Linked DNA regions of Homo sapiens: regions 1 and 2 are each linked to region 3. The links are contacts of gene promoters, found by promoter capture Hi-C in blood cells and fetal thymus (Javierre and others, 2016). All regions are on one chromosome and are shown on one strand. The core of a region is centred on a gene start or on the middle of the fragment in contact, and the rest is flanking DNA. Distances in the headings are between cores, read along the strand shown. Region 1 overlaps LINC00933 (long intergenic non-protein coding RNA 933). Region 2 has its middle 17 kb from the start of WDR73. Region 3 holds the start of ALPK3 (alpha kinase 3).

Region 1 (2,700 bases), core at 50-2,549, 240 kb before region 3:
GAGGCAAGAGAATAGCTTGAACCCAAGAGGCAGACATTGCAGTGAGCTGAGACTGCACCACTGCACTCCAGCCTGGATGACAGAGCAAGACTCCATCTCAAAAAAAAAAAAAAAAAAAGATTCAAAAGCGTTAGAAACCAAATAAATGTAATGAAAACAATCAGATTTTCTGCTTAAAGACCAGCGAAGAGGACAAATGGGAGGGGGAAACTGGAGCTCTGCCCCTGTTGGTGGGAGTATAAACTGAACCAATTTTTCTGCAGGATAATTTGAAAATTTATATTAAAAACCCTAAAACTGTTGTACGTTATTTTCCTCCAGAAATTCTACTTCTATGAATTAAATCCAAAAATGCTTGCTCTAATCCACTAAAAATATACATATAAGAAAATTTATTTCTGGGGTGGCAATGATTAAGTTAATATACATCGAGCTATTAAAAATGATGATGCTAAGGATAGATTTACTGCCATAGAAATATGCCTAAAACATAGTGACAAAAGACTATATAATGATTCTACTTTTTAAAATGTGTATATGCATAAAAAAGTATAAAAAGCAACAAGGCAGAATGTTTTGAGTGGCAAAATTAAAGACTTTTCTTCATATTTTGTCTTCCAAATTATTAGAAAAAGAATATGATTTTCTTTATAATCAGGGAGAAGTATTATTTTCATTTATTTCTATTTAAATTTATTTTCTTTTCCTTATTTTTTCTCATCTATGTATCACATATAGTCTAGAAAGCTTGAATCCCTGCCTCTTGAGATAAATCAGCCCATTTCTTTCTCTATAAATTTGCCTTTTTTGGACATTTCAAATCAATGGAATTATACAATATGTGGTCTCGTGTCTGGCTTTTTTACTTAGCTAATGTTTTTGAGGTTGGTCCATGACATATTGTAGCAGGATGAGCTGCAGACAAAACTCCTCAGACACCAGGTTAAAAAAGGAAGGAGCTTTATTCAGCTGGGAGCTTCTGCAGACTTGCATCTCAAAAGCCAAGCTCCCCAAGTAAGCAATGACTGTCCCTTTTAAGGGCTTACAACTCTAAGGGGGTCTGTGTGAGAGGGTCGTGATCAATTGAGGAAGCAGGGGGTATGTGACTGGGGGCTGCATGCACCAGTAATTGGAATGGAACAGAACAGGACAGGGATTTTCACAATGCTTTTCCATACAATGTCTGGAATCTATAGATAACACAAGCAGTTAGGTCAGGGGTTGATTTTTAACTACCAGGCCCCCAATTTTTTTTTTTGAGATGGAGTCTCACTCTGTTGCCCAGGCTGGAATGCAGTGGTGGGATCTCAGCTCACTGCAAGCTCCGCCTTCCAGGTTCATGCCATTCTTTTGCCTCAGCCTTCTGAGTAGCTGGGACTACAGGTGCCTGCCACCACGCCCAGCTAATTTTTTGTATTTTTAGTAGAGTCGGGGTTTCACCGTGTTAGCCAAGGTAGTCTTGATCTCCTGACCTTGTGATCTGCCCACCTCAGCCTCCCGAAGTGCTGGGATTACAGGCATGAGCTACCACACCCGGCTGATATTGAAATTAACGTTTTGCTTTCTTCTTGCATCTATTTTTCACTTCTCTGACATTTTGATGGATAAAGTTTCATTTGGAAGGATTTTTATTTCAAAATAGAAATAGCATATAACATGAGAATGGGAACTCTGAAAGGTTCAACTTTCTAGTCATTAGTTTCCTAAGATTGTCATGAAAGCCACATATAGTCAATCATGATTGGCCTGTATTAAAAGTGAGATAACATCATGTACAACTTAAGCACTGTACTTTCTATCAGATATAGAAAAATAGGTGGTGTGTTTGGAAAAGTATTGGGCTAGGAGTCAGGAAGCTTGACTGTTAGTCCCAACCCTCCTTCTTCAGCTGAGCACCCCTAGGCAATAATTCAGCAGCTATTTCTTAAATACCTAATGAGTTTCAGGCTTTGTAGTTGGGCTGGGAATAAAGATATAGATATTGCTTTCATGATTCTCCAAGGCTCCCCTCCTCACCCCAACTCACAGTGAGCTTTCTTATGCATTGTGTAAATTTGTCTCCTAACAGGTCCCAACTCTCTCTCCAACCTGCTTCCCAGGGAAGTTGTGAGGATCAAATGAGAGAGAATATGTATGAAAGCAAATTCTAAATGATTTTAAAATGCAATAAAATATGACCTATGGAAAATTATTTAAAGATCCTTAGAATTTTAAATAAACAGTACATTAACCTGAGTTCTCTATGGTTTTTATTTTAAATAGATATGAAAGTTTTACAATGAACCACTGATATGGTTGAAAAACTTAGCTTGATTATTCTCCAAGAAAATGATACAGTGGTTTGTCTGGTGAATTTTCTAAAATTGCCAGCCAAATAAAACCAAAACCTCTTTTGAGTTGAGTGACTGGATCAGTCAAAGGAACATTGACTGTGTAATGGAGAAATGTTTTCTGTGTTCACTGACAGCTTGCCGTTGTTTGATTCCAGCTGCAGCATATCATGAGTGATGAGATCTGTGTACAGGTGACTGACCTTTACCTGGCAGAAAATAATAATGGGGCCACCGGAGGCCAGCCGAACACACAGAACTCAAGAAGCCTCCTGGAGTCAACGTATCCACAGAAAGCCAAGCAGCTAATGTCAGATGAGAAATGCTTTAAGGTGAGAGTTGCTCATGTAGTCAAAGACCTTGCTGGTGA
Region 2 (2,700 bases), core at 190-2,689, 180 kb before region 3:
TTCTCAGCTCACTGCAACCCCACTGTCTCCCAGGTTCAAGCAATCCTCCCGCCTCAGCCTCACAACTAGCTGGGACTACAGGCACATACCACCATGCCTGGCTAATTTTTGTATTTTTAGTAGAGACTGGGTTTCACCATGTTGCCTAGGCTGGGGTTTAAGTTAAATTTTTTTAAAAACTAAAGTGACTGGCACTAAGTGAACTTGAGATTATCCTCAGCTTCAAGTTCCTAAGATAAGGGCTTTCTTAAGCTTTCAGATACATGTATCCTCTAGATGTAGACAATAATGTCCCATTTCTAAGTCTTTTCCTTTGCTTCTCCTTAAGTTGATTGTACTTCCAAATTTGCTGTTATTTTTTTTCCTAATACTGTGATTTATTTGATCTACAGACAGGAACCTTGTCTCTGTTGAAGAGCATCAAGGGAAGATTACATACGCCTTGAAACCGAAGTGTGTTGTTACCGACTTAATGTGCAGTAACTCCTCAGATATCTGTTAAGGCACTTCCCAGATGTGATGCCAGTCTTCTTACCTGTACTGAAAGATGTTTAGCTTAGAAAAAAAAAAAAGTGCAAAATCAGATTTAAAAAAAAAAAAAGTAGCAGCAGTGTGGGGAGGAAGGAAGTACCCTTCTGTGGGGAGGGCATAGAAGTACTCTGTGAGTGCAGAAAGTGGGGTAGAAGGTACAGCTCCCTTCTACTTAGAAGATTGGTGTGTTGACCTCAGGCTGACCGCATGAATTTCTGGGATCCTAAATGGGCACCTCCAAAGTGAAGAAGGACCTCGGTTGGCATGTTTTGTAAAACAACATAGGGGAGCCTGTAGCACCTTTCCTTATGTGAGTCAGAGATTACCGGTCCCAATAGGTTACAGTTGGAGACAGATTTTAGGTCTGGTTGGTGGGAAGGGCAAAAGGGTAGGGTTAAACTAAGGTGCAGTAATCCTTAAAACAGTTAAGTGTCCCCAGACCAATTTAGATGACTCAGGTGTGTTATCAAAACTGAAAAACAAGGCCAGTTATGGTGGCTCATGCCTGTAATTCCAGTACTTTGGAGGCTGAGGTGGGTGGATTGCTTGAGCCCAGGAGTTCAGAGATGAGCCTGGGCAATATGGTGAAACTCCGTCTCCTCTAAAAATACAAAAAAAAAAAAAAAAAAAATTAGCCGGGCATGGTGGCAGGCACCTGTAGTCCCAGCTACTCAGAAGGCTGAGGTGGGAGGATCACCTGAGCCCAGGAGGTTAAGGCTGCGGTAAGCCAAGGTCACGCCACTGCACTCCAGCCTGGGCGACAGATCGAGGCCCTGTCTCAAAAAAACAAAAAGCAAACAAAAAACCTGAAAAACAAAATCATAAAACCCTGACAGTCAGTACCTAGATGGATATGGAGGGGAAAACCTAAAACTTTCATTTTAGAAACGTTTCATTTTGGCTGGGCATGGTGGCTCACGCCTGTAATCCCAGCACTTTGGGAGGCAGAGGCGGGCGGATCATGAGGTCAGGAGATCGAGACCATCCTGGCTAACACAGTGAAACCCCGTCTCTACTAAAAATACAAAAAATTAGCCGGGTGTGGTGGTGGGCACCTGTAGTCCCAGCTACTCAGGAGGCTGAGGCAGGAGAATGGCCTGAACCTGGGAGGCGGAGCTTGCAGTGAGCTGAGATTGTGCCACTGCACTCCAGCCTGGGCGACAGAGTGAGACTCCGTCTCAAAAAAAAAAAAAAAAAGAAATGTTTCATTTTGGTTTTTCACCAACCTTCCTTTGATAGGACAAAGCAGATACTAAGAGGGGGAGGAAAGGCTGTTCTGTGTCTGAACCCAGTTGGGCTAGTCCCCAAGAGGAGCTGAGAGCCATGTACTCTAATGCCTCCCTTTTCTTCCCCCAGCCCTGCCTGATGTGGCTCTGGGAATTCCTGCAGAGAAGAGCAGGGGTGGCCAGGAGATAGTGAGCAGCTCCCAGGTGAGTCAGCCATTTCTCTTATATAGATCACCTTTTCTCTCTCTCTTTTTTTTTTAATAGAAATATAACTCTTGAGGCACAGCTCAGTTTTCTCCTTTTGGGAAAACGATTAAGTCATTTGTCTTTACAGATTATATTTCTTTTTTTTTAAATTTTCTCTTTTTATTATACTTTAAGTTCTGGGGTACATGTGCAGAACATGCAGGTTTGTTACATAGGTACACACGTGCCATGGTGGTTTGCTGCACCCACCAACCCATCGTCTACATTAGGTATTTCTCCTAATGCTCTCCCTCCCCTAGCCCCCAATCCCCCTCAGGTCACCTTTTACTACCCAAGTGGGGCTCCTGCAACCAACTCTCTTGCCGCTCAGAAATTCCAAAAGAATTTTACCCAGCAGGGAGGCCCAGTAACTTTACAATTTAGGCTCCAAAATTTCATCAGCCTGCAAAAGGTTGCCCAAATCTCCTTACCCATATGAGGCCAGTGCCATGGCTGTGGTAATGAGGGATTGCATTAAAATTATTCTTTTCTTTGACCCTGAAATCATCAGATTCTACTGATCTGCTTGTTTGCCTTAAAGATACTGGTTACTTCATTCTGTGTCGGGATCTTGCTCACATGGCATGCAGTACTGTGTAGTGGAGGAAAAAAAACAAAAACCAAAAGCTTCAGAGTCCAACAGCCTTGAGTTGAATTCCCAGCCATACCCTGGACTTGCTGTGTAACTCTGGGCAAG
Region 3 (2,700 bases), core at 133-2,632:
ACTTTATTGGCACAGCCAGGGTCTATAGTCAGGGAGATTGGGTACCGTGAATAGCCTGGCTTGAGTTTGATGGCAGTCAGCTGAGGCCAGGAGTGGGATCATGTGGGAACAAGGTAGTTGCCATTGGAACCACACGGAGTAGGGGAAAGCCATTTCCAAAAGGAGTAGGGATGGGTGCAGCTTCGAAAACAGAAGGGTTGGACTCCTTTGCTCCCACTTTCTAACAATTACAGCCATTTAGCTTCAGGTACTTTCTGGATGCTCTCAGGAAAATAGGAGAAAGAAGGATGGATAAAAAAGTCTGTGGGCACTTCCGGCCGGGCGCGGTGGCTCACGCCTGTAATCCCAGCACTTTGGGAGGCCCAGGCGGGCGAATCACGAGGTCAGGAGATCGAGACCATCCTGGCTAACACGGTGAAACCCCGTCTCTACTAAAAAATACAAAGAAAAAAATTAGCCGGGCGTGGTGTGGGGCGCCTGTAGTCCCAGCTACTCGGGAGGCTGAGGCAGGAGAATGGCATGAACCCGGGAGGCGGAGGTTGCGGTGAGCCGAGATAGCGCCACTGCACTCCAGCCTGGGCGACAGAGCCAGACTCTGTCTCAAAAAAAAAAAAAGTCTGTGGGGACTTCCAATATTTAGACCAGGTTTCGGCAGTGCTTGGCACTAGTTCTTGGAAATTGTTGCATGATTTGATTATTTTTCTGGGTATCAGGACTCAGCCCATTTCCCCCTCTGGTGCTGAGAAATGGAGGCCGAAGGAGTGATCTAGAAGTGTTAATTGAGCCCCTAATCTATGCTAGTTACTGGGGGTGTTGGGGGAGACAGGAGAGAGATCCCACGGGGTTCCGGCCTCCCAGGGACTCAGGTCACTAATGGAGGTGGCTTGGCTTGTCTATGTGCTGGGCCAACAGCCACTGGCGAGGCAAGGCGAGGGTCAGTCACGGCTGGTGCCAGGAAGAGGGCTGGTTCTTTGGCTCCCTGGTCTCCCGCGGTCTAGCCCAAGCTGGCCAGCGGTTGACCTGGCTCCCCTGGCCCCGGCCAGGCCTCGTGGACCCCTCATATGCCACACGGGACATGAGCAGGCCGGCCGGGAGCCGGGTCCCGGGAGCTCCACGAAGGGGCCTGTCCTCCATGACCAGGACACCCGCTGCGCCTTCCTCCCGAGGCCTCCCGGGCCTCTCCAGACGCGGCGCTACTGCAGACACCAGGGCCGCCAAGGGAGCGGACTCGGAGCCGGCCCTGGGGCGGGCACATGGGCCCCGGCGCCCCCCGGCGTCTCCAAGCCGCGCTGCCCGGGTCGGGCCAGGCCAGGGGAGGGACAGCAGCAGGTGACGACGGCCCGGCCACCGGCTATAAATAGGGGCGCGCGTCAGCCGCGGGCGGGAGCGGCGGCGGCGGGCAGGGGCCCGGGGGCCGGGGCCTGGAGGACAGGCGAGGCAGCGGCGAGTGCGGGGCCGGCGGTCGGGGAGGGCGGTGCCATGGGGTCGCGGAGGGCCCCCAGCCGGGGCTGGGGCGCGGGTGGGCGGTCGGGGGCGGGGGGCGACGGTGAGGACGACGGCCCCGTGTGGATCCCCAGCCCAGCCAGCCGGAGCTACCTGCTCAGCGTGCGGCCCGAGACCAGGTAAGTGGCACCAAGGGGCAGGGCGGCGTCGGGCCGGCGATGCCCTGGGATCAGTCCCTGTGAGGGCGGCCTGGCCCCTGGAGGCCTGGGCTGGGCCTGCGCCCTCGAGCCCTCTCAGCCCCAAGGCCCAGGGCCTGGGGACATGGCCGGGCTGGAATGGCTTTCATAGCCCCTTGTGACCCCTCCTGATCCATGCGCCTCAGGCCTCTGGCAATTCGAGGCTCAAGAGAGGACAAAGGCTCCACTTTGGAGTGATTTCATGGGGTCTGAAGGCTTTCCTTATCTCCCCTGCCCCCTACCCTGCTACTCCCTGGCTTGGGATTCCACAGCTAGCGATAAGGAAAGCCAGAGTGGCTGAAATTCCTCCCTGGCAGGAAGGGAGGGGGAGAGCACTGGTGGGGACAGGGAGAGGGTGCTGGGGGGCTGCCCAGAGTAGGAGCTGCTTAGCTCAGGGTGGGGAGGTTCTCCAGGAAGAAATAAACCTTTGTAAATAAGGTTCCTCTACTGGGCCGAGGACTTGGGTCCTCCCCAGGACCTGAGTGGGGGCTGGTGAGATAGGGGGTGGGATGAGGTACTGTCTGGAGATGTTGGGAATTAAGGACTTGCAGCTCTGAGGGAGCCAAGTGCCCTGTCCAGTTTGGGGAAGTGAAATGCCAAGGGAGGTGTGGAACTGATGAGCCCTTCACTGGTCTTCCAAGAGTTCAAGAGGTGTGGAAGCTTTGTTTTAGCAGCTAGGCCACCCACAGATATAAAGACACAAAGACAATAGACAGGCATCCAGGAAATCAAAGGCACACAGGCACACGTGGACAGGCGCATTGCCATGGAGACAGACACTTCCTGCCCCCTGTGGGCAGCTCAGTTTCCCTTCACTTCTGGAGTCTGTTTTCCAAAGGGAAATGTGTTGAGATAGTGGTTGTTTCATAGCCTGAGAACTTGACTTGTGTATTATGCAGAAAACGGCCATTCCTCCAAGAGGCTGTCCAGAGACCTCTTGTTCTCCATTCCTAAAACAGCATAAAAACAGGCATCGAGGACATTCAGGAAAAGTCCTGGGCACTTCCTCGTGAATTGGCTG

The links. Contacts are between HindIII fragments. The CHiCAGO score rates a contact against its expected background, and 5 or more counts as called.
Region 1: a contact is called between a fragment that was not itself captured here and the fragment with the promoter of ALPK3 in region 3, in 6 of 17 cell types (M2 macrophages, M1 macrophages, non-activated CD4 T cells and 3 more). The highest score is 8.0, in M2 macrophages.
Region 2: a contact is called between a fragment that was not itself captured here and the fragment with the promoter of ALPK3 in region 3, in 7 of 17 cell types (endothelial precursors, M0 macrophages, M2 macrophages and 4 more). The highest score is 12.0, in endothelial precursors.

What each region holds. Positions count from the first base shown.
Region 1 is chr15:84,575,460-84,578,159 of GRCh38, forward strand. LINC00933 (long intergenic non-protein coding RNA 933) reads left to right here. Exons shown (of 4, transcript NR_038274.1): 4 at 2,489-2,700. Among named protein-coding and RNA genes, the nearest start is that of LINC00933, 6.2 kb to the left of the region's middle. The HindIII fragment of the contact is 1,109 bases long and covers 746-1,854 here.
Region 2 is chr15:84,635,460-84,638,159 of GRCh38, forward strand. It overlaps the pseudogene SCAND2P and the pseudogene EGLN1P1. Among named protein-coding and RNA genes, the nearest start is that of WDR73, 17 kb to the right of the region's middle. The HindIII fragment of the contact is 2,378 bases long and covers 251-2,628 here.
Region 3 is chr15:84,815,974-84,818,673 of GRCh38, forward strand. It overlaps ALPK3 (alpha kinase 3), which reads left to right and starts at 1,383. Exons shown (of 14, transcript NM_020778.5): 1 at 1,383-1,622. The coding sequence starts at 1,480. RefSeq lists an enhancer at 481-1,011. The HindIII fragment of the contact is 9,413 bases long and covers 1-2,337 here.